Linked DNA regions of Homo sapiens: regions 1, 2 and 3 are each linked to region 4. Evidence: promoter capture Hi-C in 16 types of primary human blood cells and fetal thymus (Javierre and others, 2016). All regions are on one chromosome and are shown on one strand. Each heading gives the region's core, a stretch centred on a gene start or on the middle of the fragment in contact. The rest is flanking DNA. Distances are from core to core; before and after follow the strand shown. Region 1 overlaps RNF150 (ring finger protein 150). Region 2 has its middle 96 kb from the start of TBC1D9. Region 3 overlaps RNF150 (ring finger protein 150). Region 4 holds the start of UCP1 (uncoupling protein 1).

Region 1 (6,450 bases), core at 629-3,128, 300 kb before region 4:
TCCTGTAATACCTGGTACATCTTCCATCCTGGTGCTTATCTCACTGTGTTGTAATTGCCTAGTAAATGGTCAACCTGCCCACCAGACAATGAGCTCCTTCAGGATAGGGATTGTCTTAATCTCCCCTATATCCATAGCCTCTAGCATAATCCTTAGTGTGCAGTAGGGACACGGTAGATAATGTCTTGAATGAGTAAGTGATGTATGTTCATTGAAGAGTATTTGGGAGAACTGAAAAAAAATGTTAACAGAAAATGAATATAAATCCCAACACTAGAGATGACTCTCGTTAGCATTTTTGGTTTCTTTGCTTCCATTTAACTTTCTCTGTTGACCCCATTGCATACAAAGCTTTAAATATTTCTGTTTTCACTTAACAGTATACTGTGAACGTCTTCTCATGTAACTACAAATTCTTTGAAAACATCATTTTAATGGTTATAACAACATTGTCCTTTAGAAGTAATAGGTTTATTCAGATGTTCTCTATTGTTGGACTTTAAGTTACTTGCAATGTTTTGCTACTGTAAATCATGCTTAATTGAATAGTTTTGCATCTCCAGTTATTTCTCTATAATACATCCTGGAAATGAAATTACTGAGTGAAAATTTTACAGTTCTATATGCAATGTATCATGTACCTACCTACCTCAGTGTACCCTTAACTGTAATATTATCTTGTCTTTTTTAAAGAGTGAAGATTACATAGACAAAAAAGGATATCTTATTTTTACCTTATATTTATTGGTCATTTATATTACACTCTTCCGTGAATTGTGTAATGGTAACCTTTGTCCATTTTTCTATTGAACTGTTTTTCTTATTGATTTAAAAGCTTTCTATATGTTAAGAATAGAAACCTTTGTGAAATTTTTTGCAAATTCCTGAGTTTGATATGCCTTTTGATTTTATTTTACATGTGTGTAACATTTTAAATGTTACGCATATGTAACAATCTTTTCTTCTGTAAATTACCCAATTACTTTTCTAAATAGAATTTCTTGCCCAACTTACGGTAGATATATATTTTCCTACTAAGACATATCCTTAGATGATATATTTTATTATTCTAGTTTCTTTTGTTTGCATTTAACTTTTTGGCCCATGTGAGATGAGGCTTTAACTAGAGTTTTTACAGAATACCCAATTTTTCTAATACCTTCTCTTGGCCTTTAAAGAAATGTTATTACAAGCAATTGTACTGAAATAAGCAGCATGCAAAGACATAGCTCGGTGTTCACTGTGAACTTTGCTTTCTCCTCCCAGGTGAGCAGGAGCCAGCTGTAAGCAGTGATTCTGACATTTCCTTGATCATGGCAATGGAGGTTGGACTGTCTGATGTAGAACTTTCCACTGACCAGGACTGTGAAGAAGTGAAATCTTGAAACGACAAATCCAGAAGCAAAGAGATAGTAGGACCCAAGGGAAAGGAAGGGAAGAGTGCTCCAAGACTTGGACCAGGCACACACACACCTCCAGATCACCTTGGCAACTCCAGGGCGCTCCGTTCAAGAATGCTGACGAAAAGCAATATCCAAAGTCTTGTCAATCAGGATGCAGTTTCTCCATCGGTATGGCAGTCTGTGGCCTTGGCAGCTGGGAAGTTGAAAGCTGATTTCCACTCCTATGTCCATGTAGACATACACTTCAGAAGCTCCTAAAACAGAGACTGAAAGGCCACCTTTAGGATTTCTTAGTTTCATTTCAATTCTTTCCATGTCTCATCATTCTTGTTTTTGGCATGTTGTTTGATTTCTTTGGCAATTTTTTTAAAGATTATTTGTAGTTTACTTTCCATCTATTCCTTTGTTTTTCCTTTGATGCACTCCAGCTTTTGTATAGGTTTCTGTTTAGAAGCACCAGTTCCTGCTATGATCAGTTTGTATTCCATCTCTGAGATATGTGGTCTTGACCTCCCAGCATGAAGTGTGCATGGCTTTGAGAAGTGCCTCAGCACCCTGAAATGGACTAAGGCCAGCTTTCATTAAGAATCTAAGTTCTTCTAAGTGGGCCTTTAAAAACCCCAGCTGCCAGAGACCCCAACACTAAGCCCTAAATCTGCTGAGGCCACTGCTGGTTATTTTAAGCCACATCACACTTGCTTCCACTTGCCGGGCTTGATTAAGGGCCCACGTGACATGAGAAGGGAGCTCTAGGGAAGCCGTTTCATTCTTCTGGGTCTTACAGTCTTTGGCTGAAATTCTGAACTCAGAAGTCCCCTCCAAGGCATCCAGTCTTTGGTGGTTGTAGGGCTGGTTTTAAAACCAGATACCACATTTTCTTCCTATTGAAAACAAAATGCCAGTTGCATTGGTTTCCCCTGGGCTAGAACAGTTTTTTTCTTACCTCTGTAAGTGGGTTCTGTAAAAAATGGAGGCTTTAGAGAAAAGCCAATCATTTTTAAGTCCAATGGCAAACATAGTGGGGGCTGCAGTAGCACCTAGCTTTTACCTTAATTTCGACACACTTCTGTTGAATCTCACCAGACCATGTGGGAGGATTTAGGTGAATCCCTAGCAGATTGCTTCCCAGGGCTCCCTGAGTGTGTCCAGATACCAAGTGAGGAATGAGGTGTGATTTGCTGTATCATTTGAACCAAAAAGTATGCAGCATGAGAATTTGCTAGATCGTTTATCCTGACTGAAATAGACAAAGTAAGAGGGAAAGGAAAAGAGGTATCAAGTAAATACTGAAACCCAATGGTGTTTTTAAACTGTTTCTGTTTTTATTCATCTTTTGTAACTATGACAGAAATGTGCTATTTTTTCAGTGGGCAATTTTGTAATATATTCAGACTATCCAGATACAGAGATGACTAAGGTCATTGATAGCGTCTCTGAACAATCAGACGGATCACCTTATCTCTACACAGCTGGCAAACACCAGGCTGCGGCTTGGATTAACCAGGAAAGAAAGCTTTTCTCACTGAGTTGTTTTTATGTATTGATGGGGACTTTTCCACCTCATTAGACTAATACTCATTCAAAAAGAGTTTGGTTCTGCTGTAAATCCTTGCCGCCTGCTGAAACATGGTGTGCAGGTCAACGGAGAATACTAGCTGCTCCTTTTTCACCACCTTTACCAATTTCCTATTTGATGGTTTGTAAGTAGACAGTAAGGCAAGGCAGATGATTATTACCCTCAGAAAGGTTGCATCTCCCTAGGAGTCCAATGCTTCCTGTAATGAAATCCACTCTCTATGTGTGGGAAAAGAGGCAGGGAGGAATGAAGAGAGCTCTGAATCGAGAATCCTAGATGAACCACACGCTTTACTAAGCCTCGGCTTCTTCATCTATAATGTGAAGGGTTTAATAACATGAGTCCCCAAGCTCCTCTGGCTGTGGGACCACAGATGAGTCTTTCAGAGGCAGGATCCATTTTTGCAGATAGCTATGACTTGTGGCAATCAGGCTTCGTAGCTTGGGGAGGTAGAGTTACTTGACATGTATCATGTAATAACAGCCTTTGAGACTTGGCACAACTATGGTGCTGAGAATGAAAATCTAAATGATTGAAGTTTTAAGTCCAAGTAGGAGTTGGTTTGTTTTGCCTTGTTTAAAAATTGCTGTTAGTCACAGAGTTTGCAATCTCTGGATACCTTCAAATCCTAGCTCTCACTGTGGGATTCTTGATCTCAGAGGTGTTTATTTTTCACAGTCAGCATAGGCTTGCGCCACTGACTCCTCCTTCAGTCGGCTTTGCCCAAAACAAATTTTAGTATTACTGGTATTAAGTTTAGTCCAGTGGAATTAGAAGGATAATTCAATAGCAACAGAAATATAAATTATATTCCATTCCCAGAGAGAGAATGCGCTTTGGATTGTTTAGTCCTCTGATTAACGAGTATTTTCTCTTCCTGCCAAGAACTAGGTGAATCAGGAATTGATTGCATATGCAAGCCCTGGCCACAGCTGCACTTACAGGATGCCTCATAGACGATGAGGGGTCTGAAAGGCCAACCCGAGGCTGGCAGATCTGACCCCAAGGAGGTCCTGCTGCAAACCCCCTGAGCCTTTGCCATTCACTACTTACCAAAGTTTGTTTCTGGAGGATTTTCCTGTAGCTTTGATAGTTTAAAAAAAAAAAAAAAAAGAAAAAAAAAAAGCTTAACCAGAAAGTTTCTCTTTCAGAAGAAAGGGGAACAGCCCTTCCTTATAGCCTTCTTTACCTCCCCCAAAGAAGAGACTGACCTGGAGACCTGGTAGTCTACAGATGAGTGTCAGAGGGTGTGTGTACCCTCTAGAAGCAAATGCAGACTGTATGTGTATTTGCAGATGTGCATTTTTCTATAGCAAGAGTCTAGACTAGCACTGTCCAACAGAAACGTAATGCAAGTCACAGACATAATTTTAAATTTTCTACTAGCCACATTTTAAAGTGTAAAAAGAAACAGGTAAAGATAATTTTAATCATGTACTTTAACCTAATATTGTTTCAACATGTCACTAATGTAAATTAATGACATGTTTTACATGCTTTTGTGTACTAAGTCTTCTAAATCCATTGTGTCTTTTACACTCACAGCACCTCTCAATTTGGATAGTCACATGTGGCTAGTGGCTGCCAATTGGACAATGCAGGTCTAGAGTTCCTCCAGTATTCTCACAAGATCCCCCGACCCTTACAAAAGAAAAGAAGGTTAAAAGCTTAATTACCTCCAGGGAGAACTGGACACCACCCAAGTCGCCTAATGAGAGGCCCAGAGGTCCATTTATTTTGTAGTGAATAAAGATTCAGGCACCCTTTTTAAAATTTCTGCTTGAACTTTCTAACCATATCATTGATGTCCATGACCATTTGTTGTTACTCCTCTGACCAGTTGTTACTTAAAACTCACACAAACCATGCTGATTTGGTGCTGAAACAAAATTATACCCCTCACTTCTATGGCAAACCCTCGGACTGATATGTGGCACTTAGGAGCCAAAGAGAACTCCAGACTGAAATCACCCAACTTTACCTCAACCCCTTCTTCTTGTTCATGGTTGGTGAAAGTCCTTTCCCAGTGTCCCCCAGTCCCACAGCTGTAGTGAAAACTCACGAACTTGGGAGGAAAGAATGAGAAATGCAAGACTTTATGTGGCCTTCTTGAAAAAGAATCTTTGGGGGCCTGTGATCATCCGGTCTCTACTTGGTGAATTATGACCACCTCCAACAGCCAGCATTTTACTCCAAGTCAGCATCCACCTGCCACCCCAATGCTATGGGGAAGAAAAGGAGCATTTGCATTCACTCAAAATAATTTAGGGTCACCTTTAGGAACTGCTACCTCCTATGTGGCTAGTCCCTTTGGAAGAGCTGAGCCCTGACTATGAATACAGCTTTTGAACATTGACTTAATCTCTAGGGTTAGATATCCCCTGCAGTGTCAACTCTGGTCATCTACACAGGGAGAGGTAGAGTCTGGAGAAGGCAGAAAATTAAAAGCGGCAAAGGTACCTACCCATTTTTGACATCACATGGTAATGATCAGAATCATGGAGGCAAAGCTCTGTCCAAAAATGTTCATTTTGTTTTGTTTTGTTTTGTTTTCTTGTTTTTAACATTTCCTTCATCCTGGTGAAATATCCTGGAAATTCATAGATCTGGGTTTGGTCATTTCAAAGCTCACCATGCCCAGTGGCCATTTCAGTTACTGCCCTGACATCCCTGAGGCTACCATACTCTCAAAACCAAATCAATGCCAGTGATCTAACATAGGATTCTTTCTTATTTATGAGTTTTGTTTAGATGGATATTTTTGCAGAGCATAAAAAATTAAATGACATTTAGTTATCCATTGAATGTATCACCCTGACTTAAAAAAAAATCCTTAAATCAAAACTTTTCAAAAAATCTGGGCTATGGAGTCACTCCCTCTGTGGAGCGAGAGCCCAGTCTTTTCTGGTACTAAGGCCACAGAGGCAATTTCCAGTAGCATTTTTATATCTTCTCTAAGTTTCTTTTCCTTTTCTGTCTGTATCTGTTTTTCTCTGACTGCCTATATCTTACTTTGTATACCCATACATAAATTATTTTCCCATCTTCTCTCTTCCCCTTTTTTTCTGATTTGTTTTCTCTCTTGCAAGAAACTCTGAAATAACCTTCAGAACACAAAAAACTGGAGGTTCTATACCTACAGAGTCATTATCATTATTGTGATTACCATTGTTACTGTTGTTGGTGTTTTTCCTCTTTTTATTGTGTAGCAATATCCATATTCACTTCTGATGAGGCAAACCTGTTTACTATAAACCAATGTCCTCCCTAAAGGAGTCAGTTTCATTTTCACTTCTCACATCACCAGTTGTATCGCAACCCATCTTACAACCATTGCCATGTTTTCAGGCTTCCTTGCCATAAATGTTTTCTGGGCAAATAATGGCAAAGCAACAATTCCAGAATGCTGTCTAGATCTGCTTTCTCCCACCCTCAGCATTTGACCCTCCTCATTCGCCTGAGCCCCCAGGG
Region 2 (6,703 bases), core at 3,647-6,146, 280 kb before region 4:
GAGCTATGATTGCACCACTGTACCCTGGGTGACAGAGCAAGACCCTGTCTCTATAATAAAAAAAAGAAAACTGAAAGTTTATGTATAGGAAGATTATGTATAATCAGGAAACACTCCCTGAACAGGAACAAGTCTAGTCTGGAAGTACTGGAAGTAGAATAGGATGATGCAACCACTGTATATAAGCAGGGACACCTGCAAACACACACACACACACACACACACACACACACACACACACAACCCACAAGGTGAGTCCCCACAGAATGCTAATTTTAGCTATGCAAGGAAGCTCATTATTTTAAGACCCCAATGTGTGTTATTTTCTAGACTCGCCCCTTCAAAATATGATTAGTCATGGAAATACTGGATAGAAGAGGGTGGTTTCCCCAGCAAAGGTACCACCCTCAAGCCTGAATACCTGCGGCCCTAAATAAGGACAGACATTCCTGTTTTTGCACCCAAAAGTTGCCTTCTGGCCCACAACGCCCCCTGTCCTGTACCCATATAAACCCCAAGCCCCAGGCTGGGAGAGAAGAGAAGGAACATCAGGAGAAGTTTGGCTGGGGATGGTCAGAGAATCAGCAGCTAGACAGCCAAACTCTAAGGAAAGATCATCTTTTCACTCCATCTCCTGTCCAGCTCCCCATCCATTCCACTGAGAGCCATCACCACCACTGAATAAAACCCCCACATTCAGCCTTCAAGTTAATGTCGGACCCAATTTTTTGGGATGGCTGGACAAGAGCTCAGGATACAGAAAGTTGTCATGCTGGCCCCCTGCCCTTGCAAAAAGGCAGAGGGCCCACTGACCTGGTTAACCCTTAAGCCATCCAGAAGGGCAAGACTAAAAGAGCACACTGTAACATGCACCCACCTGGGCTTTGGGAGTCGCAGACACCCACCCCTAGACACTGCCATGGGGCCAGAGCCCCAAAGCAGTCACTCTGGTTCCTGCACCTGCCATCTTCATGATCCTCCTCCCATAAAAGGGGTTTGAACTCACCAAACAGAGAGCCACACTCCTGTCGCATGTGTTGAGAAGGGGTGCAAGGGAAGTCTCCCATTTCAGTTATATCATACTTCCCAGCACTGGCTCACAGGCCAGTGCATAAGAAGGCCATCCCTTCTTATAGCCCTGCTATGGCACTGAGACTTGCTCGACAGGAAGTAAAGAGCGAGGATTCTTTTTCATATATTAAGAGGTGCTCAATGTCCAGAGGAACCTTCCAAGTAGAGAACTCCTAAAAACAATGGATAAAATATTAACACCTCCTTTAAGACAAAGAGCTAAGCTGGTAGGAATGTAAGATAAATTCTTGGACACCAGAAACAGTAAGAAACTACTAGTCTATTCAGAGGGGAACAGGACCACCAGAAATAGAGTTTGCCCTGGGTGCCTATGTTTATTTAGCTTTCATGATCTAGGGGTCTACAATTTTTTTCTGAAAAGATACAATTTTAAAGATAATATTTTGGGCTTTGTGGGCCACATATGATTTGTCACTTACTTCATTGTTGTTGTTTCTTAGCAACAGTTTAAAAATGTAAAAGCCATTCTTAGCTGAAAGGCCACACAAAAACAGGCCACAAGAAGGGCGTGTGCTGCTCCTACAGGAGGAGCTCAGAGACAAAGCTCAGGCTCAGAATCAGAGACTCCAGCACAAAGCCAGCACCCAAAAGAATTGACACCCTTCGTGGGTAAACTGGAAAAAAAAATATGCTTACCAGAAGGAATTGATATAAGTGTTTACCAGTGTTGGCCTTGGTTCTAGTTAAAAAGGGAAAAAGATAAAGTCTCCTCCAACACCCCAAGATACCTTAGCCATAGACAAGCCTTCTCATGGGCTATGTATCAGAATCCAAGTACTTATACGACCTAAAAACCCAAAGTACGAATTTAAACTTATTGCAAACTGATAGTCACATTCAATGTTTAGTAGAAATGAATGCATATATCCTCACTAGAGGAATACTGTTTAAACCAGGTCTCAAAGGAATTCTCACAAACCAAGTTTGAAGGAATATAAACTCACCACCAAAAGCTCAAAATACATAAGGAAACAAGTCACAGTGAGGAAGAGGGTTGCAGAAAGATTGATGATACGAGAAATAATTGGTTCAAGATATAGGGTAAGTGTTCTAGGGAACCCTACAGGTGATTCTAATGCACCTTGAAGGTGTTATTGTTTTTAGAGACAGGGTCTCACTCTTTCGCCCATGCTGGAGCACAGTGGCACGATTATAGATCGCTGCAGCCTCAAACTCCTGGGCTCAGGTGATCCTCCTGCCTTAGCCTCCCAAGTAGACCTGAGACTATAGACCCATGCCACCATGTCCAGCTAATTTTTAATGTAATTTTTTTTTTTTTTTTAAGAAACGGGGTCTCACTGTACAGGCTGGTCTCAAACTCCTGGCCTAAAGCAATCCTCCCACCTCAGCCACCCAAAGTGCTGGGTTTGTAGGCATGAGCCACCATGCCTGGCCTCATCCTAAAGTTTGAAAACTACCATTCCAGTCACTTCAGAGCTCAATAGCACAACTACCAAAATCAAAGTAGGAAAGCGGGACAAGTAAAATTGTTTATTTGGTTGGTCTACTTTGATCTTATGGTAATGAACTTGGAGGAGACTAAATTTCACCTATAAAATGATGGCTTGAGACTAAAGAAGAAATAATCAAGCCTGTCCTTATACTTTACCCACAGGGTCCCATAGGAACCAACCCTGACCTCTGTCTCCCACTCACCTCTATCTGGACACTCTCCACCTGACTCACAGGGCTGCAGCCACACTGTGTCTGCTGGTTTAACCATGTATCCTGGGGACCTAGAAGGAGCTCAGGGAACATCGTTAAACTAGTAACTGAATGAATGCTGGAGGCTCAGCTTTTTAGCCCAAAACACCAAGTCCAGGCTGGCATATTAATGGAAAGAACTGCCTGCTGAGGACTTGCTGCTACTGACTCTGAAGAATAACAGTGACACTAAAATAAATGCATAGTGCTTATCATCACTGCTGTCATCTTAACGTTAGTAATAATAGTGAACATTTGCATGGTTACTATGCACCAGGCACTAGTCAAGTGCTTTGCATGCATCATATCATTTCGCCCTTACCATAACCCTTTGAAGAAAGTACTATTAGTACCCCATTTTACAAATTCTGATCATGAAGCTTAGAAAGTAGCTTGCCCAAATCACACAGCCAGTAAGTGGCAAAACTGCTCATTAATCCGTTTTCTGGCTCCTAAAAGCTGCTCTTCACCACCATGATATATTATCCTCCCTCATCTGAAAAAAGAAGCTGACAGGTTTCTGTCTTTATCTCTGTAAAATAAGATGAAAGATATTTAAATTTAAATTTAAAAAAACAAGTCTGGTGTGGTGGCTCATGCCTGTAATACCTGCACTTTGGGAAGCCCAGAGAGGAGGATTGCTTGCAGCCAGGAGTTTGAGACCAGCCTAAGCAACATAGCGAGACCCTGTCTCTACAAAATAATAATAATAATAATAATAATAATAATAATAATAATAATAATAATAAAATAAATTAGCTGGTGTGGTGGCACGCACCTGCAGTCCCAGCTACTCAGGAGGATCGCTTTAGCCCAAGAGTTTGAGGATCCAGGGAGCCATGATCACACCACTGCACTCTAGGCTGAGTCCAGAGCAAGACTCCAAAAAACAACCACAACAACAACGACAAAGCACCTTTGCAGTAGAGAAATATAATAAACACTATCTCAGTCAGGTTGTCAAAATTAACATCAACAATGATGCATACATAAGTATGTAGCCTTGATATGATGTGATGAGAATGTTACTGGGGTTTTCCTCCCAAAAACCCATAACACAATCCTGGTAGAACCATGATAAAAACACCAGACAACTCCACACCGAGGAACATTCTACAAAATACATGACCAGTATTCCTCAAAAACTGCTAAGGTCATCAAAAACAAGGCAAGTCACAGAAACTGTCAGAGACCAGAGGATCCCAATGAGACAAGGTAATTAAATGTAATGTGATGTCCTCAATGAAATCCTGGAACAGAAAAAGGACATTAGGGGAAAAGTTACAATGATAGTGAAATCTGAGTAAACTCTGGAGTTTAGTTAATGGTAATGTACCAATGTTGATTCCTTAGTTATGACAAATGTACCATGGTAATGCCAGGTGTTAGCAACAGGAAAAACTGAGTGATGGAAATACAGGAACTCTCTGTACTGTCTTTGTAAGTTTTCTGTAAATTTAGAACCATTCTAACAGGAGTTTTTTTTTTAAGGAGATACTATTATCAAATATAACAACCTATTGAATTATTAGAAGCAAAGAATTCATCTCTGATGACACTGTGGAGTGTCCTCCGTTGGAAATTTTAGGAATAAAACAGAAAGCTCAGTACCCTGAAGAATTTAAATGTTAGTCTTCTTGAAACATAACACTGAACCAAATTATTTCTTGACATCAATTATATTTTAAGACTATACATTTGTGATTTTTATTAATTGTTACAATGACTCTTCAACACTGAGTAACTGGAAAATTTGCCAAATGAAAAGTTAATCTTTTGTAATTATATGTCAGAGTTATCACAAAAATAATGAGTAGGTGTCTCAGCTACGGCACAGTAATTACATTAAACATTGGCTGGGTAAAGAACCAAACGTTACAGAACGCTTGCTGTTTGTGTTGGTATTTATGTAGTTGAGCTGTTTCTCCCAGTAGGGGGCTCTGTTGACCATCAAATGGAAAAGATGCCCTGGCGTTAGGGAACAGAGTTTTTTGGATTCTACTTTGATTAGCGTTTGTAGGGGTAACTTTGAGGAAGAAAAACCTTTCACAAATCTTCTCCAGTTAGAAAGGAAGATTAGACAACACCAACTAATGTGGTTGGGGGTAGAGGATGTTTCAGAGAAGAAAGAAGGTATATTGGACCATACCAGAAAACAGAGACCTTCAGAATGCTCTTAGGCCTAGATATTGCTGAAACCATATATGCTCAAATGAAAAGCAGGTTTGAAGTGATAAAACTAGAAATGCCATATCCCACTTTCAGGATATGTGTTCCTGAAAGGTAATATTGGAGAAATGTCCTTCTTATACATTTTTTAATTGAGATAAGGTCTTGCTTTGTTGTTCAGGCTGGTCTTGAACTCCTGGCCTCAAGCAATCCTACCTTGGCCTGCCAAAGCACTGGGATTACAGGTGTGGTCCATCACACCTGGCCAAAGAAATATTCTTGAAGTATCACTTACATACTCATTGATTGACCACTAATGCCCTATTCCACATAGCATTTCACAAGATAGCTCATGCATTTAATTCTTTATCTAAATGCAGGAGCAAGAGCAGCCTCTACACACACACACACACACACACACACACACCCACACCCACACACACACATACACATTGACCCAATAAAAAATTTTAATGATCTCCCATTTCTATAAGCCCAAGTACAGAAGAGAATTCTTGATTGGTTTCTAAGTCCTGCTCTACCTAGCCTCTGACAACATCTCCAGAATTATCTTAAACCACTTTCCCACTCACTCTGTGTGTTCCAGCCCCACTGGCTTTAACATCTTCTATTTCTAACATGCAGAGCACCATCCACTACAGGGCCTTTGCACAGGTTTTCCACACAGCCTTATTGGTCTTATCCTATTCACCTCCTTCTATTTAATGCCAATTCATTCTTTGGATCTCAGCTCAAGAGCTTTACCTTGAAGAAAACTTCTCTCACCCCTGGATTAAATATCCCAGTTAAACGTTTACATAGCACCTTGTACTTGGCCATTATAGCTCTAATGACAGGTCTACTCCATGTATTAAACAATGTTTAGTATTGATAGTTTGCTTATGTGGTTGTCAGATTAATACCAATTCTCCAACCTAGATTGCAAATTACTTGAGATTAGGATCCATGTTTTTATTCTCCATGTATCCCAGTACCTAGCATAGGACCTGGCTTAGCACAGGTTTTCAACATATATTTGTTGAATAAATGATTGAAGGAATGACCATGCCACACACACATTCTCAGGAAAAACAACACTTGGATTTCAGAATGTACTACTTCCAATGGGGAAAAAAAATCCTGCTGACTTCAGAGGGAGTAAAGCCAGAAAGACAAGCAATAAAAGATGGTATCTTTGCCCAGAATGTGTAGGTTCTCTGACATTCACTGCCTTACCAAAGCCCATCCTGTTTTCTGAAATGCTGAGTCAGGTTATTTGGAGAAATTCTTTTGGCAAAAAAAACCTCTTTTTTGTTTGCTTGTTTCTATAAGCCAGGGAACACCAAATATTGCCAGTAAACCACCAGAAGCTAGGGAGAGGCACGGAACAAATTCTCCTTCAGGACCCTCAGAAGGAACCAACCTTGCTGACACCTTAATCTCCTCCAACTTCTAGCCTCCAGAACTATGAGACAACACATTTCTGTCATTTAAGCTAAAAAACAATTTAATGTGATAAAATATAAATATAGATAGAATATATACAATGTATCTTAAAAGAATCAAAGCAGTGACAAGATAGGAAGGAAATACCAGACCTACCATGAAGAGAAGTCAGCATCCCAGAAGCACAAATGAAGACAGAAGCTTCTTTTCCTCTGAGAGTAGTTATCCACCCTAAAAATACTGGATTTTCATTTTAGTGGCCTCCTGGCACTGGAAGAAAAAAATCAACTCC
Region 3 (6,205 bases), core at 2,457-4,956, 320 kb before region 4:
TGTTTACCTTATAATGTGTTTATGCTCTTCCTGAGGACTATATATTTAGGCACATTATTTAAAATGCTTCTTTCTTTTTGAAAATGCAGGTGTAAGAGAGTATGTTTCTATTTGTTTTCCTCTTCCCCACCCCTCCCAGAGCAAAGTAAAGGATTCCCTGCTTTGCTGTGTTCTGCAGCTTGACCTTTAAACCAGACTTTGTGTTTCCATCAGAGCCCTGTTCTCTAGTTTCTTCTGGCTCTAGTGTTGTGCTATTTTGTAACAGGGTGACACTTGTACAAGCAGTAGGGATAAGGCTGTCACATGGTGAATGAACTTTTTATGAAATGTTGATGCGTCGACCTACATCCAACAACACTGAAGAAATAGAATATTACAGAAACAGTGGGATGATAGCCAGGGAAAGGAAGGGTATAGTTTGTCACCAGCACATTAATGGGCAAAGAAGGAGCCCAGAAAGCTTAGTGGGGAAAGAATAAAACATATTCTCAGTAAATATATTAAATCCAATATTAGCTGCATATTATCTGGCATAGCGTATAGTGCACATACTGCGTAGCATTGTGCGTTATGTTTATATGCATGTGTATTTATCAAATCTCATTACAGGCTACAAAAAATGTATTATTATCAGTACTTTACTGATGAGGAAGCTGAGATTGTTTATTTCTCAAGATTTTATCTAAGCAAGTATTTGTCAAGTATCAACATCATATCATACATGTAAGTTAAATAGAGCTGTGGTAATTTAGCCTGGCATTCAAATCCTTCTGCAATCTGAATACCACCTATCTTTCTAATACCATTGCCTGTATTGAGTTACACCAGTCAGGAAAATGGAAATCACTCTAGGGATTTCAGAATAAGGAAATTTAATTCAAGAACTTAATTACAAAAATTTTGGGGGAAAATGAACAATTCCTACTTTGCACCATACATTAGCTTGAAATGAGTCATAGATCTCTATGTAAAAGCTAAAAGTATAAAAGTTCTAGAAGAAAACATAGGAGTAAATGCTAGCAACTTTAGGATAAGCAAATATTTTTTAGATAGGACTTAAAAAGCGAACCATTGACAAAGTTGATATGTTGGCCTTTATCAAAATTTAAAACTTTTAAAATTAGCTAGCTGTGGTGGTACGCACCTGTAGTCCCAGCTACCAGGGAGGCTGAGGTAGAGGGGGATTGCTGGAGTCCAGGGTGTCGAGGCTGCAATAAGCCAAGATTGTGTTGCTGCACTCCAGTATGGTCAACAGAGTGAGACTGTCTAAAAATAAATAAATAAAACTTTTGTTCCTTTAAGGACATCTTTAAGAAAATGAAAAGTCAGGCCTCAAGCTGAGAGAAAATATTTGCAATACCTATGTCTAACAAAGAATTTGCATTCAGAACATATAAAGAATTTGCATTCAGAACATACAACTCAGTAAGAAGACAAACAACCCAATTTAAAAATGGGCAAAGCATGTGGGTGACCTGCCTTATGTCACTAGTGGAGCATTGTGGGATGCCTAGTTCAGCTTTTCTTATTTATTTCCTGTTTTTCACTACTACCCACTCCACTCAGCTGAACACAACCACATACACACTTGTATGCACACTCCTCTATTCTGGAAAAATGTGGAGTAAAAGCAAATAAGTAAAAGCTAACATTGACTTGAACATTCACTTTCCAAAATAGATGTACATACTTTTCTTTTTTTTTTTTTTTTTTTTTGTGATGGAGTCGCCCTCTGTTGCCCAGGCTGGAGCGCAGTGGCGCTATCCCGGCTCACTGCAAGCTCCACCTCCTGGGTTCACACCATTCTCCTGCCTCAGCCTCCCGAGTAGCTGGGACTACAGGCGCCTGCCACCACGCCCGGCTAATTTTTTTGTATTTTCAGTAGAGACAGGGTTTCACTATGTTAGCCAGGATGGTCTCGATCTCCTGACCTCGTGATCCACCCATCTCGGCCTCCCAAAGAGATGTACATACTTCTTAGAACATATATAAAAAGAAGCTCAAGCTAGGTGCTGTGGCTTACGCCTGTAATCCCAGCACTTTGGAAGGCTGAGGCAGGCGGATCCCTTGAGGTCAGGAGTTTGAGACCAGCCTGGCCAACATGGCAAAAATCCCATCTCTACTAAAAGTATAAAAATTGGCTGGGCATGATGGTATGCACCTGTAATCCCAGCTATGTGGGAGGCTGAGGCAGGAGAATTGCTTGAACCTGGGAGGCCGAGGTGGGCAGATCACCTGAGGTCAGGAGTTCAAGACCAGCCTGACCAACATGGAGAAACCCCGTCTCTACTAAAAATACAAAACTAGCCGGGCATAGTGGTGCATGCCTGTAATCCCAGCTACTCGAGAGACTGAGGCAGGAAAATCGCTTGAACCCGGGAGGCAGTGGTTGCAGTGAGCCGAGATCGCACCACTGCACTCCAGCCTGGGCAACAAGAGCAAAACTCCGTCTCAAAAAAAAAAAAAAAAAAGATATATGTACATATATATAAAATATATGTACTCTTTTATAATATATTATATATAATATATATATAAATTAGCTGGGTGTGATGGCACGCACCTGTAATCCCAGCCACTTGGGAGGCTGAGGCAGGAGAATTGCTTGAACCTGGGAGGCAGAGGTTGCAGTGAGCTGAGGTCACACCACTGCACTCCAGCCTGGGCGACAGAGCAAGCCTCTGTCTCAAAAAAAAAAAAAAAAAGACTGATGTTGGAAAAAATGTAGAGAAACTAAAACTCTTGTACACTGCTTGTAGAGATGGAAAAACAGTACAGCCATGTTGAAAAAAACTGTTTGGAAGTGACAGGAGGAAGATGGCATAATAGAAAGCCCCAGATCCTCCTTCCTCCATGGAGATACCAACGGACTTAAGAAATGTGTATAGACCAATTGTCTTTGGAAGAAATAACAGAAACAAGTTAAGAAGTTCCTGCACTCCAGGCAAGGACAAAGCCAAGTGCTTGGAAGCCCAGGAGGAAAATTCATGGAACCCACTCATTCACCAGAGCCCCTCCCCTCTAGTATAGCATGGTGCCATTGGAGAAAACTCCCAACTCAGAGTTCTTCTCAAGCAGAGAAAGAGAAAAATGATTGTAAAGTGGGATGTCTAATATTCTGACTTTTGGAGGGGGTGTTACCTAAGGGACTGGCTTCTGTCTTCCCGAAATCTAAGCACAGACAGGAACAAGGCAGCAGGTCAGGGGGCCAAAAAAAACAAAAGTGATGAAGAGGACTTGGTTGAGCACGTGTCTCAAACATAAACACAAGGGGGAGCTCCAGTACCACAGCTTGCTACAAAGCACCAGAAAGGCTTCAGTGATGCAGACACTGGGGAAGCTTCTGAGTAAAACTGGCAAACCTCTGCAATTAGATTACATACAAAAACCCAGAAAGCACACATCCTCAGAAAAGGCCTGAGAGATCTCCAGAATCTCTAGCTGGGCTGGTTGGCGAACTACCTGTACCTGTATGAAACCAGACTGCAAAGACTGGGAGAAGTGGCAGATAATTCAAATACTGAAGTCCCAACAAAGCATGAAAAGGAGTACAAAGAAACAGGAAAATATGGCCCAATCAAACGAACAAATTAAATATCCAGAAATTACCCCTAAAAAATGGAGATATATGAATTATCAGATAAATCGTTTCAAAAGAATCATCTTAAAGATGCCCAATGAATTAAAGGAGAGCACAGATAGACAGCTGGATATAATTAGGAAAATGATGTATGAATAAAATGAGAATATCAACAAAGAAAAACTATGAAGAAGAAACAAACAGAAATTCAAGAGTTGAAGACTACAGTAACTGAATTGAAAATTTTACTGAGGGAGATTAACAGCAGACTTGATTAAACAGAAGGAAGAATCAGTGAACTTGAGGAAAAGTCACTTGAAATTATCAAGTCATAAGAGCAAAAAAAAAAAGTGAAGTACAATAAAGAAAGCCTAAGGGACTTATGCTGTACCATCAGGTGGACAAATATGTGCATCATGAGAGTTCTAAAAGAAAAAGGGAGAGAGAAAGGGTCAAAGAGCTTCTTCAAAGGCATAATGGCTGAAAGCTTCCCAAATCTAAGGAAAGATATGAACATCTAAATTCAAGAAGTTCAGTGAGCTCTAAATATGGTAAACCTAAAGAGGTCTACACTGAGACACATTACAATCAAATTGTCCAAAGTCAAAGACAGAGATAGAATCTTGAAAGCAGCAAGAAAAAATTAGCTTATCACACACAAGGGAGCTTACATATGATTATCAGCAGATTTCTTAGCAGAAACCTTATAGGCTAGAAAAGAGTGAGATGATATATTTAAAGTACTGAGAAAAAGGGAAAAAAATGTCAACCAAAAATACTATATACTGAAAAACTGTCCTCAAAACTGAAGGGGAAATAAAGACTTGCCCAGATTAACAAAAGCTGAGAGAGTTTGTCATCACTAGACCTGCCTTACAAGAAATGCTAAAGTGAGTTCTTTAAGTTGAAACAAAAGAACATTAGATAGTAACACAAAAGCTTACGGCACCATGAAGCTCAGTGGCAAAAGTAAATATGTAGACAAATACACAATACTGTGATAGGGTGGTGCATAAATACTGTAATGGTGGTACATAAATCACTTTTAATTCTGGTATAGAATTTAAAGGACAAAGGTGAAAAAAACTACTTTAATGGATGTAAAATATACTAAAGATATAATTTATAACATCAGTAACTTAGTGTAGAAGGGAATATATAAGAGTAGAGTTTTTATATGTGGCATTATCTGCTTAAAATAGATTATTATAACTCTGACATGTTTTATGTCATCTCTATAGTAACCACAAAGAAAATACTCAAAAAAGTACACAAAAGATAAATGAGAAACAAATCAAAGTATATAGCACTACAAAAAAAAATGAACAAAACTAACAAGAAGGCAGCAAGAGAGGGAAAAAGAGAGATAACTACAACATAGAAAATGATAAAATGAAAATAATAAGTACTTCCCTATCAGTAATTACTTTAACTGTGAATAAACTCTCAGATCAAAAGACTAAATAAATGAAAAACAAAAGGTAACTATATGCCGTCTACAAGGCAGTCACTTTAGATTTAAGGACATACCTGAGCTAAAGGGAAAAGATGAAAAAAGATGTTCCATGTAAATGGTAACCAGAGAGAACAGAGGTGCTCATATCAGAAAAAATTAGACTAAGTAAACAACTGTCACAAGAGACAAAGAATGTCATTATATAATGATTAAAAGGTTAATTATTCAGAAAGATATAACAATTATTAATATATATTTACCTAACAGAGCACCCAAATATATGAAGTAAACATGTACAGAATTTAAAGGGAAAATAGTAACACAATAAGAGTAAGAGATTTCAATACCCCATTTTCAAAAATAGATAGAAAACCAGACTGAGAACAATAGGCATAAGTAGAATAGAGCAACACTATAGATCAGTTGGATCAAACAGACATATACAGGACACTCCACCCAACAGTAGCAGAATACACATTTTTCTCAAATGCACATGAAACATTCTCAAGGATAGATCACATGTTAGGCCACAAAACAAGTCTTAAGAAATTTAAGAAGATTGAGTGGCTCACACCTGTAATCCCAGCACTCTGGGAGGCCGAGGCGGGTGGATCACGAGGTCAGCAGATCGAGACCATCCTGGCTAACATGGTGAAACCCCGTCTCTACTAAAAATACAAAAAATTAGCCGGGCGTAGTGGCGGGTGCCTGTAGTCCCAGCTACTCAGGAGGCTGAGGCAGAAGAATGGCGTGAACCTGGGAGGTGGAGCTTGCAGTGAGCCGAGATTGCACCACTGCACTCCAGCCTGGGCGACAGAGCAAGACTCCATCTCAAAAATAAAAATAAAAAAATTAAAAATAAAGAAAATTAAGAAGATTGAAATCATACGAAATATCTTTTCCAACCACAGTGAAATGAAACCAGAAATCAATAGCAAACTGGAAAGCTCATCAAAATGTAGAAATTAAACAACATCCTCTTTTTTTAAAGAGATGGAGTCTTGCTTTGTCACCCAGCCTAGAATGCAGTGACATGATCATAGCTCACTGCAGCCTGAAACTCCTGGGCTCATGATATCCTCCCACCTCAACCTCCTGAGTAGCTGGGACTGCAGGTACATGTCACTACACTTGGCTCTTTTGCTTTGTTTGGTTTTTCATAGAGACAT
Region 4 (6,615 bases), core at 3,063-5,562:
AAATTGTTTTCCAAAAAAATTGTGTCAATGTATAACACCATCACTAATATAGTATTGATATTATGGTTATTACATTTTAAAATTCATAATTTGTAATTATAACATTCATAATTTATTACTATTTATAATATTAATGTAAATGTATATTATATATAAATGTTATAGTAATTATAACTTTGGTAGTGACAAAGTATTAATTTATTAGGTGAAGTATATGCTTTTTTATTAGTGATAATAAATATATCCTCTCTCCCATTATAAAAGTTTGTATTTCTTCTTTTAGAAATTGATTCTTCTGTCATTTGCACATTTATCTGTATAATTATAACAGGGTATTTCCCAGTGGTGGCTAATGAGAGAATTATGGGAAAGTATAGAACACTATTCAAATGCAAAGCACTGTATGATTTTTATTTAATAGGAAGACATTTTGTGCAGCGATTTCTGATTGACCACAGTTTGATCAAGTGCATTTGTTAATGTGTTCTACATTTTCAAAAAGGAAAGGAGAATTTGTTACATTCAGAACTTGCTGCCACTCCTTTGCTACGTCATAAAGGGTCAGTTGCCCTTGCTCATACTGACCTATTCTTTACCTCTCTGCTTCTTCTTTGTGCCAGAAGAGTAGAAATCTGACCCTTTGGGGATACCACCCTCTCCCCTACTGCTCTCTCCAACCTGAGGCAAACTTTCTCCTACTTCCCAGAGCCTGTCAGAAGTGGTGAAGCCAGCCTGCTCCTTGGAATCCAGAACTACTTTCAGAATCTTGAACTTCTGTGACCTCTCAGGGTCCCCTTGTGTGAAGTTTTTGACGTCAGCTTCTCCTGTGACCCTTAGAAGTCACTCTTGTGTCTAGCACATCCCAGGTGCTCAGTCACCATTGAACTACAGTCATACTATCTCCTGGCAAAGGCTCTTAACTGTCCATGTTAGCCTGATATTAATATCCTGGAAGCTTATACTGTCGTTCTTCCTTCCAGGTTTAAATAAGGCAGCCCCTTTATCCTGTCACAGGTCCTCTCTCCCTACCTATCCTTACCTGTTTTGGATAACAACCTTTCTTATTTCTAATAGATTTATTTATTTCTCACATTTCCTTCCCTTATCATAGTTTTCCTCTCACTTTCTCCTCTAGTTTGTCATACTCTGGCTTTAAAACATGCAAACATGTGCCTTATGGGGAAAAAAAGACAATTTTAATTTACCTTGCTTCTTCTTTACAAATGTATTGTGGCTTCTTCTTATAGTCCAAATCTAAAACTCTTTACCCACCCACTGCCTTGAACTCCTTCCTCGTTGTGAAAGTAGGATGGGGCAAAGAGAGAATGCATGCCCCTCCCAACTGCTCAAACAAGTAAAGGTGCTGTTACAGTTATCTTTTGCTACCTTAATACAATAATTATTTTATTATATCTCACAATTTTATGGATCAGGAATTTAGACTGGGCTCAGCTAGGCGATTCTTCTGCTTTACTGACATCATAGGAGATCACTTGGTGGTATTCAACTGTCAGGTAGGCTTATCTGGAGGGTCCAAGATAGCTGTACTCTGGTGCCTGGTGCCTTGGTAAAGAGGGATGATGATGTGGGGCCTCTCCAGCATGAACAGCCTCAGAGAAGTTTGCTTTCTTACATGCTGGCCCAGGGCTCCAAGAGCAAATGTTGCAGTGAGTAAAGCAGAAGATACAAGGACTTTTATAATCTGGTCTCAGAAGCCACATGGCATCAGTTCTGTATTATTCTATTGGTCAAAACATTCATAAGCCTGCCAGATGCAAGGGGAAGGCATATGTACCCTCATCTTTTGATGGGAGGAATGTGATGGATTTGCAATTATGTTTTAAAACTACTACAGACAGAACCACTGAGAAAGATTCATGGGTAGCTTTGGGGTGAGGACTGGGAATTAACCTGTTGATAGCAGAGGTTCACTAGAGTCAACAAGGAATAAGGTCTCCTCTTGTACACTTTAGTCATACTATACCAACATTCTTAACCACTGCTTAGCCATCAGCCTCACAACATAACAACTCCATCATAGTTGTACTCCCTAAGATCACCAACAATGTTAGAGTCAAATCCGGTAGGTTTTTCTTTGTTTTTGTCCTCCTGACATTTTTTCTAAACTTGACACTGGTCAGACCCAATCTTTCTTTAATCATATTCTTAAATACCAGTTCTATCACTGGATATGTTACTGTTTCTTGTTCTCACTCTACCTTTGACAAAGCCATTCTTTCCAGACTATAACTCTGGGTCTGGGTCCCCCTATGGTTTGGCCCTTGAATTCTTTTCCTAGTCCTATTTGACTAGCCCCATTTTCCCGTGAAAAGCATGCCCCTTTCATTGCATCCATATCATGACTACCAAATACCTCCTCTATTTCTTCCTCTTTTAGCATGTTAAATGCAGCTTCCTAAGCTCTCTATCTGGATATCAACAGTATTCTCTCCAAATAATTCTAAGACTTTAAAAATTGGTTTAATCTTCTTACCCCTAAAATCACCCCCCTTACCAACTGCCTCATGACAATCATTGGTACTGTCACTGAGCTTGCAACCCATGTTCTTAAACATAGAGTAATCTTTGACTCCACATCTAATCATTCATAAAGCTGTATTGTCTATCAAATTAAATCTGACATTTATGTGAGAGCACTTCATAGTCTGTAAAGCACTACACAGGTGATAACATGAAGCTACACTCATAATGGATTTGCAGGCTCTGCTTCTCATTTGGCTTCTACAGCCTCATCCCTCACCAACTTCTTGCCCTACCTCTCTCTTTCTTCCCCATCACCCAATTTCCCAGTCAGTCAGGCCAACAGAATGCATTCTATATACGCGACTTGCTTTCCCCAACATCTTTGCCTGTATGCATGCCACTTATTTGCCTCAGTTGATCTTTATTTCAACAAGTGTTTGCAGAGGAGAAACCTCGCTGGCTCCTTCTCCTTTCTATTTTTTTTCAGAGGCTACCCGTCAGGTCAACATTGCCTTTTTCAGGGAAGCTCTGCAAGCCTGACCTCCCTTGGAAGTGCCTTAGGACTGGCTTCTTGCACAGTACACAACCTTTACTTATAGAGGGTTTGGAGATTATTCTTTATTCATGTCTTATTTCTCCTGCTCCTGGAGGAGATGACTCTGACTTCCACTGACTCTTTTGGGGGGCTTAAGTCAGGGTTGAGTACCAGAGGCCCTAAATAGCTGGACGTGGATTCTGGTAATATCAAATCCATCTTTGGCTTAACTGAGAGGTTCTGAAAGCTGGGACCTGACCTTGTCCATTTCCCTCTTTCTCCAGTTTCCTATTATTTCCCACTGTTTTTTTTAAAAGTTTTTTGTTTTCTTAAGTTTTCACAAGAATAAACATTGAAAATAAAATTTGCACAAAGATCGAACTAGGAAAGGCCACACAACCAACACATATTACATCATTATAGGTAAGTTAGCAGGGAGATTTCAGACCTGGGCTAGCTCTGGAACCACATTTTACACTGTTGAAAATAAAAGCTGGAGTACAGATGACTTTCCCAGGTTCACAGAGTTGGTAAGCTGGAGAGCTGCACCTGGAGCCAAGCAACCTGCCCTGTCCTTTCCACTGCACCCTCTAAGAAATCTAATTAGAAGGAACAGGTGGTATCTCATTTTGTACGGTGCTTTAGCAATGTACTATTTGCTTTCTAGTGTGTCTATTGTCTCGTTTGACATCTTCTCTCAAAAAGTGATGAAACGAAACGCTCTTTTTGACAAGTTCAGAGTGCTCTTGGTTCCTGTGTGGGATTCTTCCAAGTCTGAATTTGGTAGTGGGAAGAGAAGGAATCCGGAGGAAGGAGGATGAGAAGTTTAAAGGAGAGGAAAGGGAAGCAGAGAAGGCCGCAAGGTGCCTGCAAGATGTCTGGGGAGTTGGAGGAATGGAAGAGTGCCCCGCTCTTCCTTCTGGGAGAGCTCCAGCTAGGCAGAACCTTTCACCAAGGCTCTGATATCGTGCTGGTTTCCGAAAGCCCCAGCCGAAGGTGTGCAGCCAAAGGGTGACAGAAGGTGAGGCACGTGCGGGGGCGCGGGTGCTGACCGCCGCGGTGCGCCCTCCCTCCGACGTGCGGTGTGCGGGGCGCAGACAACCAGCGGCCGGCCCAGGGCTTTCGGGGAGCGAAGCAGGGCTCCCGAGGCACCGAGCGAGAATGGGAATGGGAGGGACCCGGTGCTCCCGGACACGCCCCCGGCAGGTCCCACGCCCGGGTCTTCTGAGACCTCGCGCGGCCCAGCCCGGGAGCGGCCCAGCTATATAAGTCCCAGCGGAAGACCGGAACGCAGAGGGTCCTGCTGGCGCGAGGGTGGGTAGGAGGGGACGCGGGGACTCGGCCCCCAACACCGCGCTCCGTCTGCAGCCGCCGCCTCTGCACCGCCGCTGCCCGGCGGTCGGTTCAAAAAACAGAAATCGGGTTTGCTGCCCGGCGGACAGGCGTGAAGAGCAAGGGAAAGGAACTTCCTCCACCTTCGGGGCTGGAGCCCTTTTCCTCTGCATCTCCAGTCTCTGAGTGAAGATGGGGGGCCTGACAGCCTCGGACGTACACCCGACCCTGGGGGTCCAGCTCTTCTCAGCTGGAATAGCGGCGTGCTTGGCGGACGTGATCACCTTCCCGCTGGACACGGCCAAAGTCCGGCTCCAGGTAGCTAGGCAGAGGGGTAAGACAAGGGGTCTCAGGACAGAGGGGACGCTGTTGCGTGCATTCCATTTATTCTCTGCTTTGGTGTAACCACTGTTTCTAGGTAGGGTAGGTGACCTTCCAAAGCAGTCTGGCCTTGTCCCAGGGCTGGTGCTTTAGGATGGGAAACTGGAACTTTTTCTGGGATTAGCTGAAGAACCACCAGGGCCACAGAGAATGGGTTGACCATGACTACTACCAAATTCTCCCAAAATTTAGGGTGCACTTAGTATTTTAAGAGCTGAGAATATTGGCCTCTCCTGAGTTTACTAGTCAGGTGCTTTTTCCTTTCTTTGATTCTTCGGGGGTTCTGTCCTATCCTACTGCCCTAGGGGTTCTGGAGAGTTCCTGGGGAGGGGGATATTCAAAATGTGCATTGTAGCCAGCCTCCCTCCATCTGCGCGTGAGCGAACACACACACACACACACACACACACACACACACACACACACACACACGGTAGAGGGAGGTGGATGGAAGAGGAATGTTGCTGAGAAAAGAAACGGAAAATAGGAACACAGGGGGAAATCTTGGCTTAAGAGTGAACTCAATTTCGCTCCCTTCTGTTCTGCACCTTTCTTATTTCCAGGTCCAAGGTGAATGCCCGACGTCCAGTGTTATTAGGTATAAAGGTGTCCTGGGAACAATCACCGCTGTGGTAAAAACAGAAGGGCGGATGAAACTCTACAGCGGGCTGCCTGCGGGGCTTCAGCGGCAAATCAGCTCCGCCTCTCTCAGGATCGGCCTCTACGACACGGTCCAGGAGTTCCTCACCGCAGGGAAAGAAAGTAAGCCGTGAGCGTTCCTGGGAGGGGCAGAAAAGCCTTGGGCTCCGCTCTGTTCCAAAAAGTGTAACACACAGAGGAGTGGTTTTCATAACAAATTGGCGAGAAAACATTCATATTTGAACTCTCCCTTCCCCAAACATTAGCTCATTGTTCATAGAAAAAAGTATGCAAAATCGATTTTTTAGATGCAGATATATACTTGTAAAGGTCACCCAGTCATGGAAGTTTTGTGCCCAGTTTGGATCTCCATCTGGAGAATATGGGTGGGCTACAGAAAAATGTTTAACTTAAAGTTCTCCAAAGAGGGAAGTATATCAGAAACATCTATGGAGCTTGTCAGAAATCCAAACGAGGACTACCATGGTCCTCTGAGTCTGAATCCTCAGGCTAGAGACCAGAGTGTCTTTCCACAAGCTTCCCTCATCATTTGTGTATGCAACAAAGTTCAAAGCCTTCTGTTTGAAGCAAAGAAAGCCAGACTTTGTGAAGAGAGTTGAAAGGACAGGAAAAGACATATTTCCTCTTAAGAGGTTCCTCATCAGGTCCAGGAAAGACCAGAGCAGAAAAAGTGGACGAATGCTGCAGGGAGTTTGTTTAGGGGAAAAAGAAAAGGAAACATATTTCCTGAGTGCCAGTGCACTCTAAGAATTCCTGTCACTTTAGGTAGCATTTATTTGAGGGCTTAACTATGAACCAGACATTGTTCTAAGTGCTTCAGATACATTATAACTGGAAGGGTATTAGTACCATTATCCCTTGGCAGATGGGAAAACTGAACACAGAGCAGATTCATCACTTGCCCAAGGTCACACAGCTGGGAGGGGGCAGAGCCAGGGTTCAAACCCAGGCAGTCTGGCCTCGGACTCCAGGCTCCTAACCCTGTTCTCTACTGCCTTCTGCACTTCTCATATGATTCTGCCCATCATTCAAACCGCACAACACTGCTGTGAGTAAAAAGTGTTAGCCGAATATCAGGGTAGTTAAGTAACATGCACAAAATCACACAGCTAATCAACATCAGAGGCACTTTCATGTGGAGTAGACAAGCCAGAGAGAAGATGTGCTGATGGCACAATGAATACATTAAGTGAAATCCACCTTGTAGATTTCATCATTTCTGC

The links. The method cuts DNA at HindIII sites, captures the fragments that hold promoters and counts their contacts. A CHiCAGO score of 5 or more calls a contact.
Region 1: a contact is called between a fragment that was not itself captured here and the fragment with the promoter of UCP1 in region 4, in 3 of 17 cell types (naive B cells, total B cells and endothelial precursors). The highest score is 5.7, in naive B cells.
Region 2: a fragment that was not itself captured here is called in contact with the fragment with the promoter of UCP1 in region 4 in 1 of 17 cell types (endothelial precursors); the score reaches 5.0 in endothelial precursors.
Region 3: a contact is called between a fragment that was not itself captured here and the fragment with the promoter of UCP1 in region 4, in 1 of 17 cell types (endothelial precursors). The highest score is 5.1, in endothelial precursors.

Annotation. Positions count from the first base shown.
Region 1 is chr4:140,863,196-140,869,645 of GRCh38, reverse strand. It overlaps RNF150 (ring finger protein 150), which reads left to right. Exons shown (of 7, transcript NM_020724.2): 7 at 1,267-6,450. The coding sequence ends at 1,385. Among named protein-coding and RNA genes, the nearest start is that of TBC1D9, 110 kb to the right of the region's middle. The HindIII fragment of the contact is 2,081 bases long and covers 838-2,918 here.
Region 2 is chr4:140,849,251-140,855,953 of GRCh38, reverse strand. No RefSeq gene overlaps it. Among named protein-coding and RNA genes, the nearest start is that of TBC1D9, 96 kb to the right of the region's middle. The HindIII fragment of the contact is 3,436 bases long and covers 3,179-6,614 here.
Region 3 is chr4:140,881,702-140,887,906 of GRCh38, reverse strand. All of the region lies in intron 6 of RNF150 (ring finger protein 150), which reads left to right. Among named protein-coding and RNA genes, the nearest start is that of TBC1D9, 130 kb to the right of the region's middle. RefSeq lists a silencer at 3,118-3,412. The HindIII fragment of the contact is 727 bases long and covers 3,343-4,069 here.
Region 4 is chr4:140,566,658-140,573,272 of GRCh38, reverse strand. It overlaps UCP1 (uncoupling protein 1), which reads left to right and starts at 4,312. Exons shown (of 6, transcript NM_021833.5): 1 at 4,312-4,669; 2 at 5,296-5,494. The coding sequence starts at 4,544. The HindIII fragment of the contact is 4,953 bases long and covers 958-5,910 here.